Regions from separate parts of the Homo sapiens genome. Here regions 1 and 3 are each linked to region 2. The links are contacts of gene promoters, found by promoter capture Hi-C in blood cells and fetal thymus (Javierre and others, 2016). All regions are on one chromosome and are shown on one strand. Each heading gives the region's core, a stretch centred on a gene start or on the middle of the fragment in contact. The rest is flanking DNA. Distances are from core to core; before and after follow the strand shown. Region 1 overlaps TMEM50B (transmembrane protein 50B). Region 2 holds the start of IFNAR1 (interferon alpha and beta receptor subunit 1). Region 3 has its middle 5.1 kb from the start of IFNAR2.

Region 1 (2,934 bases), core at 140-2,639, 130 kb after region 2:
ATTTGATCATGTATTATCCCTTCTCACATAAAGTCATATTAGAGGAATTCTTTTTAAAAGAAGCTTTCAAACTAGTCCTTTGGGCATTTAAAAAATCATTATATAAAAGTACACTTCTTCAATACATAAGAACAAATATTTTTTCTTTACCAAAAAAACCTCATTTTTAGGCCAAAATAAGTTACAACTTGCTGAAAACCTTTTATGGCTCAGTGCTCATTCTAGATATATGAAGCTATATTTTTTTGTACATCTTCAGAAATCAGATACTGAGAGTGGTCCTTCTTTTTTTTGAGAGGGAGTTTCACTTTCTCCCCCAGGCTAGAGTGCAGTGGCGCAAACTCAGCTCACTACAACCTCTGCCCCCCGGGTTCAAGCGATTCTCCTGCCTCAGCCTCCTAGGTAGTTGGGATTACAGGCACCCACCACCATGCCTGGCTAATTTTTGTATTTTTAGTAGATGGGGTTTCGCCATGTTGGCCAGGCTGGTCTCAAACACTTGACCTCAAGCAATCGGCCCGCCTCGGCCTCCCAAAGTGCTGGGATTACAGGCATGAGCCACCGTGCCCAGCCAGAGAGACAAGAGTGGTTACTTCTAAAATGACAAGATGATGTAACCCTGGCTCAGGGAGTAGATCAAGTTCTAAATCTCAGGAATAAAAAACTGATACTCATTATCCAATTCATATAGTCTTGTATTATATACATATTAACAGTCTATGCAATGAAAAATAAAGAAATTTCATAAAACTATTTCAAAACTCAGAACATAAAAATGTAAAGAAACAAAACATTTAATGTACAATCTACTCCATTTGGCAATGTGTACTGAGAGATAAAAAACCTATCTACAAACAGAATATAACAAAAGGAAAATGTGACTTAAGAAGTGATCTCAGGTCCATAGCTCTTCGGTTCTTCCAAATTTGTAGATCAGAGTGCTAGAAAGATAGGAAAACAAATCATGAGGAAAAAACCGATGGAACAAGCAACACAGAATTCATTTTCTCAATATGCTTTGACAGGTACTTCACTGATTCCTATCAATTTTAAAAATTAAATTAGACATCATGGCAGTGTTGGTCTTAATTTGCTTATTTTGTAAAGCAGTCTGTTAACTACGATGGCTAAGCATAACTGTATTCTTTCTTAAGGCCTGGGAAGTTATTAACAGGCAACTTGTAAGGAAAAGAGACATTTCTCTATGACTCAGAAACAAAAAAATGAATCAATAAATCAAAAGAAAAAGGGAGAGAGACCATTCTCATAGTGACAGGCATTAGGGCCATTTTATGTCTCCAGGAGCCTACCATATCTAAATTACAGTAACTGAAGCACCCTACAACAGACCATGCTGCAATTCTTCATTCCTTCAACAAATAATTATTGTGCACTGAAAAGTGGCTACGTACCAAGCACCTAAGTGCTGGGGTGAGACTGAGTCCAGACAAACTTGCTCCCTAATGGAGCTAAGGGTCTAATAAGGAGACAATCAAATAAATATAAAATTCCACCTATAAAAAAATGCTATAAATGAGAGGTGCACAGTATCCTCAGAGTGAAACATAAGGATCAGACCTAGTTAGAGAGGTCAGGAAAGGTTTTCCTGAGGAGTGGTGACTGAATTGAGATCCAAAAGAAGAGGGGGAATTATCTCGGCAAAGTGAGAGAGGATAAGGAGGCGGGAGCAGAGAGATGGGACACTCCAGGGCCATGAGTTGAGCTGTGGGCATACTAAATGTTTTGGATTTGAAATGTCAGCAACCCAAGAAGGGATGTGAAGTAGGAATCTGGATATACGGTTTAGGCCTGGAAAGGGACATCTGTGACTCACTGGCATATAAGCAATAATTGGAGTCCTAAGTACACATGAGTTCACCCAGGGACAGAAAAATAACAAGGAGTTTCTTAAGGCCAAGAACAGCTTTAAGAGACTTCAAAAGGTAGTAGGCAGGGAGTGGAGGATCAGCTTGCAAGGAAAACAGAGGAGTGACCAGAGATGTAAATAAAAGAGGTTGTACCCCAGAGCTTAGAACAGGTCCAGCACACAGGAAGCATACAGGCTGCCTGATAACTTGCCAGCCTCTGGGCAGAGCACATAGATGACACAGCTGTCAACTATGTCCACCTGAGCATACAAGGTTTCTGTTCATCCAATTGTCATTTAAGTGGATTCATCTACCACCACAAAGTGTTGAATCTGAACTTAATCTCTAAAGACTGCCTAAAATGTCTTCATAACAACTTACCATATCCCCAGAAGGCTGTCAGTCACATGTCTTTGACATATAAGACAGCAGAAACTGCCAAACATCTTTCAAAACCAGGAGTGTCAAGGCCACAAGGCGAAATCCAGGTAGAGCATGGTGGTCTGAGAGTGGAGGGAGACCACATGGCTAGAGTTTGCCATGCAGCGTACAGACAGCCACACAGAGGGAACGCAGGAGATCTGCAGGGGGTGCTCCTTCAGTCTGTGGCTGAGTACTGAAGAGTCTATACATAAGAGGAAACTACCCAAGGGAAGGAAAGAACCACTGGAAAGAACATGTCCCAGAGCTACCACAAGGCTGGAAGAGAGTTCATACTCTCACAAGTCGAGTAGAGAAACCTCGGAATACATGAAGCATCAGAGAGTGGAAACACTCAAAGGGTATGACTGCCTTAGTAGGGGGACAAATCAGTCCTGGGCTACAGCTGCTCTGGTCCTGCCTATAACAAAGCTTAAGAGACATAAAAGGATCAAATTGTTTCTGATTGTTTCTGAGTCACCTAACTGCATCCCAAAACAAAGCTTAAAAACATTTAAAGGACTAGCAAAGATCCAGTCCCAACAAATTGTATGCAAAGCACCAAATAAGGGAAAATAGGTCCAAAATGAAGAGTAAACAGAAGCAGAAAAAATCAGTAGAAGCAGATGCAGAAATGACACAGACA
Region 2 (2,940 bases), core at 426-2,925:
TATATATGGCATATATATATGGCATATATATATGGCATATATATATGGCATATATATATGGCATATATATATGGCTATAGAGATGGCATATATATATGGCATATAGAGATGGCATATAGAGATGGCATATAGAGATGGCATATAGAGATGGCATATAGAGATGGCATATAGAGATGGCATATAGAGATGGCATATAGAGATGGAATATAGAGATGGAATATATATGGCATATAGAGATGGAATATATATGGCATATAGAGATGGAATATATATGGCATATAGAGATGGCATATAGAGATGGAATATAGAGATGGAATATAGAGATGGAATAGATATGGAATATAGAGATGGAATAGATATGGAATATAGAGATGGAATAGAGATGGAATATAGAGATGGAATATAGAGATGGGATATAGAGATGGGATATAGAGATGGGATATAGAGATGGGATATAGAGATGGGATATAGAGATGGGATATAGTGATGGAATATAGAGATGGGATATAGAGATGGAATAGATATGGAATATAGAGATGGAATAGATATGGAATATAGAGATGGAATAGATATGGAATATAGAGATGGAATATAGAGATGGGATATAGAGATGGGATATAGAGATGGAATATAGAGATGGGATATAGAGATGGAATATAGAGATGGGATATAGAGATGGAATATAGTGATGGGATATAGAGATGGAATATATAGATGGAATATAGAGATGGAATATATAGATGGAATACATATATATTCCATTGCATTGTTCTTTACAAACATTCATTTAATTATGTAATTGCTAATTAATTGCTTGGTTGTTATAACAACGAAGTATTTGATTCCTTATTTTATCTCATCATTTAAATTTTATTTCGCATATTTTCACAATGCACTGGATCTATTACTGAGGAATTTAATTAAATAATCATTCGAACCATGGGCTCGAATTGTTTACTGATAAAGCCCGACGACCAAAACAGCCTAGCGACTGCTGTTTGGAGCCCCTCGGCCCAGGGCCCGTGGCTGTTCTCTCCAAGGGACCATCTCGCCCCTCAGCCAAGTCGCCCGGAAAACGAGCGCTCGACCGCCTCTGCCCCGCTCTCGCTCTGCACACAGCAACGGTCTGGTCGCTCAGCCACTTCCTCCTTCCAGCCTCATCTGGTTCCCAGGCCGCTGGGGACTCCCAACGCCACTGTCCAAGACTCTAGGGTCAGCAAGCGCCCCGGGCGGAGAAGGGCGAGGACGAAGAGCGCCGGGCCGCGACCAGGAGCCCACCCGCGCCCTCCGACTGCAGACATGGGGAAGAGACGCGGGAACTCCAAAGTCGCTGGGTCTGCGCAGGTGTGTGCCGCGATCCTGTGAAGGTCAAGGCCTCCTGTGAGGGGGAGTCGTCCTGGAATGCGATGGTGAAGTGCTCCAGACCGGCCATAGGCCGGAAAGAGTGAGGAAGAAGAGAATGCAGGAGGCCTGCGATTTCTAAGGCGCGCGCGCACAGGGGTGCTGCAATTAGGATGGGGCAATGGGAGCTTGGAGAAGGGGTGCTAGCTAGGAGGAAAGGCGCGTGCGTGGAGGAACGGCGCGTGCGCGGAGGGGCGGTGTGTGTGTCAGAAGAGGCGGCGCGTGCGTAGAGGGGCGGTGAGAGCTAAGAGGGGCAGCGCGTGTGCAGAGGGGCGGTGTGACTTAGGACGGGGCGATGGCGGCTGAGAGGAGCTGCGCGTGCGCGAACATGTAACTGGTGGGATCTGCGGCGGCTCCCAGATGATGGTCGTCCTCCTGGGCGCGACGACCCTAGTGCTCGTCGCCGTGGCGCCATGGGTGTTGTCCGCAGCCGCAGGTGAGAGGCGGGGAGGAGAGTCTTGGCGCAGGGCGGGAGGTAGGGCACGCAGCTGGGCTACGGGGGCGGCGATGCTGTTGGGGGCGACAGACGCCCAGTCTGGGAAACCTTCGGTCCACTTTGCCGCGCCAAAGATTAAACCCGACCTGGGCTCGCAAATCAACCAGGAGAAAGTGGTGTTCTGGGTCCTCTCTTGCCGCTTGCCTGTGGCCGTGTACGGGTCCTCGGGAGCGCCCGGGTCCCACCCCCGTGAAATGGCGGTGCCAGAGCTTTGTGTCGAGTTTGATTCTTTCCGGGAAAGTACCGCGGCTCCGCTGGTCTGTTTGATAATAAACAAAACATTTCCCGAAATGCATTTCCTCAATCTGGTGAATAGGCGCCCAGTCCCACGGGGGAGTGAGCTAAGTGTGGCCAGGATTTCTCTGCCCTCAGGATTCATACAGGCCAATAAAAAATGACAGTCGGAGTGACTGAAGCATAATTGTCAGTTCTCGAGGTTTACTAAGCCTGCTTCAGGGCGCATCCGGGAAAAACGTGAGCCACAAACACGTCTGTGACTGGTTTTCCAGAGGTTTTCAGGAGGTGGGGCAGGAAGGCAGTAAGGCAAATAGTTCTGTGAGAATTTAGTTAGTGCCCAAGAAATCTGTATTTTAAGATACCATGAGTGTCTTGAAGAGAAAAAGAGAGTAAAGGGAGTCAGTTATGCAGATGCCTCTGGGTAGATGGAGTCTTGACTTTGTTTTGCACCTGAGAAGATAAGCTTGTAATTGACATGGTCAGTGTGGAAGGCCTGAACTAGTTTTTCAGATTAACTTTGGAATGCCATTTGTTGAGAGGAGAGGTCCATTCACATTGTTGGGGGGCTTAGAATTTTATTTTTGGTTTACTTAACTACCTACTTTTTTCCCAAAGAAATAATCATGTTCAAAACTCAATGAAATGTTATCTCAATGAGATTGTAATGTTGCTCAGTCTTTCAGAAGTCATAAAAATAGTCATACTTTTTAAACTAGTAAATGCAATTCTAGGACCCAAGACTAAGAAAACTGTCCAAAATATGGGAAGACATTTTTATTTATACTTTTTTTTTTTTTTTTTTGAGA
Region 3 (2,900 bases), core at 246-2,745, 100 kb before region 2:
GTTACAGTAAGGGATTGTGGACACCAAGGTTTTATCACGCAGATGAAGCCTCCAAGTAGCTGGCTTCAGAGAGGATAGATTGTAAATGCTTCTTATCAGACTTAAGGTCTGTGTTGATATTAATGCTGGTCAGCTTTTCCTGAATTCCACAAGGGAAGAGGGTATAATGAGGCATGTCTGACCCCACCTTTCATCATGGCCTGAACAAATTTTTCAGGTTAACTTTGGAATGCCCTTGGCAGAGAGGACAGATCCATTCAGATGGTTGGGGGGAGGGCAGGGGCTGCTTATAACTATATTTTTTGGTTTACACTTCTTTTCTTGTGTATTCATTTAATGCCATACATTTTCCTCTAAGCACTGCTTTCATTTTATTCCACAAATTTTGATGTTTTATTTTCATTTTTATTCAGTTAAAATATTCCAATTCTTCCTAAGTCTTCTTCTTTGACCCATGTGTTATTTACAAGTTTATTGTTTAATCTCCAAATATTTTGGGACTTTTTCTAGCTATCTGTTATTGATTTCAAGTTTAATTCCATAAGATCTAATAGTATATTTTGTGTGATTTCTATTCTTTCAAATTTGTTAGCATGAGTTTTATGGCCCAGAATGTGGTCTATTTTAATTAATGTTTCACAAGAACTTGAGAATGGGTATTCTGCTGCTGTTAGATGACATATTCTATAAATGCCAGTTAGATCAAATTAATTGATGGTGCTGGTCATCTCAACTATATCCTTACTGATTCTCTCCCTGCTGGCTCAATCTGTCAATTACTGATAAACAGATATTGAAAACTCCAACTGTAATGATGGATTTGTCTATTTCTCCTTGCAGTTCTATTAATTTTTGCATCATATATTTAGACACTTTGGAGTTGGGTGCATATACACTAAGGACTGTTATGCTTTCTTGGAAAGCCGACTTTCTTATCATTATATAATTGTCTTTTACCCCAGATAATTTTCTTTGTTCCGAAATCTGCTTGCCTGAAATTAATACAGCTACTCCAGCTTTCTTTTGATTAATGTTAGAATGTCATATATTTCTCCATTTTTCTTCTTTTTTTTTTGAAACTGGATCTGCCTCTGTTGCCCAGCCTGGAGTGCAGTGGCACAATCATAGCTCACTACAGCCTTGAACTCCTGGGCTCAAGTGATCCTCCCACCTCAATCTCCTGAGTAACTAGGACTACAGGCACCTGCCACTACACCCAGCTAAAATTTTTTTGTTTTTTGTTTTTTTGGTTTTACTATGTTGGTCAGGTTGGCATTTTTAAAAATGTAATCTATCAGTGTCTCTATATTTAAAGTGGGTTTCTGGTAGACAATATATAGTTGGCCCTTGATTTATTTTTAAATCCACTCTATTAGTCTCTGTCTTTTAATTGGTACACTTAGACCATTCACTTAAATATACTATTGATAGTTAGATTAATATCTCCCATATTTGTAACTGTTTTCTATTCAATGCACTTGTTCTTTTTATGTTTATTGTTGTTGCTGTTATTGTTTTTCTTCCTTCTCTTTTTCTGCCTTCTCTGTTGTTGTTGTTTTTTTGTTTTTTTTTTTTCTTTTGAGACGGAGTCTGGCTCTGTCCCCAGGCTGGAGTGCAGTGGCACGATCTTGGCTCACTACAAGCTCTGCCTCCTGGGTTCACACCATTCTCCTGCCTCAGCCTCCTGAGTAGCTGGCACTACAGGCACCTGCCACCACGCCTGGCTAATTTTTTGTATGTTTAGTGGAGACAGGGTTTCACCATGGTAGCCAGGATGGTCTTGATCTCCTGACCTCGTGATCCGCCCCCTCGGCCTCCCAAAGTGCTGGGATTACAGGTGTGAGCCACCATGCCCAGCCCTTCTCTGGTTTTAATTGAATATTTTATATGATTCCATTCTCCCCTCACTTAGCACATTAATTGTATTAGTCAGGATTCTCTAGAGGGACAGAACTAATAGGACAGATGTATATATGAAAGGGAGTTTATTGGGAGAATTGATTCACATGATCACAAGGTGAAGTCCCACGATCAGCCATCTGCAAGTTGAGGAGCCGGAAAGCCAGTCCAAGTCCCAAAAGCTCAAAGTAGGGAAGCCAACAGTGCAGCCTTCAGTCTGTGGCCAAAGGCCTGAGAGCCCCTGGCAGATCACTGGAGTGAAGTCCAAGAGTCTAAAAGCCGAAGAACTTGGAATTTGATGTTTGAGGGCAGGAAACATCCAGCATGGGAGAAAGATGGAGGCCAGAAGACTTAGCCAGTCTAGCCTTTCCCCCTTCTTCTGCCTGTTTTTATCCTGGCCATGCTGGCAGCTGATTAGATGGTGCCCACCCAGATTGAGGGTGGGTCTGCCTTTCCCAGTCCACTGACTCAAATGTTAATCTCCTTTGACAACACCCTCACAGACACACCCAGGAACAATACTTTGCATCTTTCAATTCAATCAAGTTGAAACTCACTATTAACCATCACATTAATTATACTTCTTTTTAACAAATCTTTAGTGACTGCCCTAGAGTTTGCAATATACATTATAACTAATCTAAGTCCATTTTCAAATAACAATACACTAATTCATGGGTAGTACACAAGTATCTTAGAAAAGAGTATCCCCAATTTCTCCCTCTCAACCCTTATAACATTGTTATTATACATTTCACTTATTCATAAGCTATAATCAACCAATATGTTGCTGCTATTATTATTTGGACAATTATTCTCAACCTGATAAAGAACATCTACAGAATCCCTACAGCTACTCACAGAACTCAGGAAAGCACTTTACTTACTATTACCGGTTTATATAAAAGATACAATTCAGGAACAGCCAAGTGGAAGAGATACCTAGGACAAGGTATGGGAGAAAGGGGCACTGAGCTTCCATGCCGTCTCTAAGTGTACCA

What was found. The method cuts DNA at HindIII sites, captures the fragments that hold promoters and counts their contacts. A CHiCAGO score of 5 or more calls a contact.
Region 1: a fragment that was not itself captured here is called in contact with the fragment with the promoter of IFNAR1 in region 2 in 1 of 17 cell types (total B cells); the score reaches 6.5 in total B cells.
Region 3: a contact is called between a fragment that was not itself captured here and the fragment with the promoter of IFNAR1 in region 2, in 4 of 17 cell types (total B cells, activated CD4 T cells, neutrophils and 1 more). The highest score is 6.1, in total B cells.

What each region holds. Positions count from the first base shown.
Region 1 is chr21:33,449,923-33,452,856 of GRCh38, forward strand. It overlaps TMEM50B (transmembrane protein 50B), which reads right to left. Exons shown (of 7, transcript NM_006134.7): 7 at 1-941. The coding sequence ends at 896. Among named protein-coding and RNA genes, the nearest start is that of TMEM50B, 29 kb to the right of the region's middle. The HindIII fragment of the contact is 2,657 bases long and covers 62-2,718 here.
Region 2 is chr21:33,323,295-33,326,234 of GRCh38, forward strand. IFNAR1 (interferon alpha and beta receptor subunit 1) reads left to right here and starts at 1,676. Exons shown (of 11, transcript NM_000629.3): 1 at 1,676-1,837. The coding sequence starts at 1,762. RefSeq lists promoters at 380-1,663, 1,017-1,687, enhancers at 700-1,602, 890-1,099, 1,320-1,369, 1,603-2,504 and cis regulatory regions at 1,108, 1,599-1,608, 1,665. The HindIII fragment of the contact is 6,325 bases long and covers 1-2,595 here.
Region 3 is chr21:33,223,403-33,226,302 of GRCh38, forward strand. No RefSeq gene overlaps it. Among named protein-coding and RNA genes, the nearest start is that of IFNAR2, 5.1 kb to the right of the region's middle. The HindIII fragment of the contact is 4,332 bases long and covers 1-2,900 here.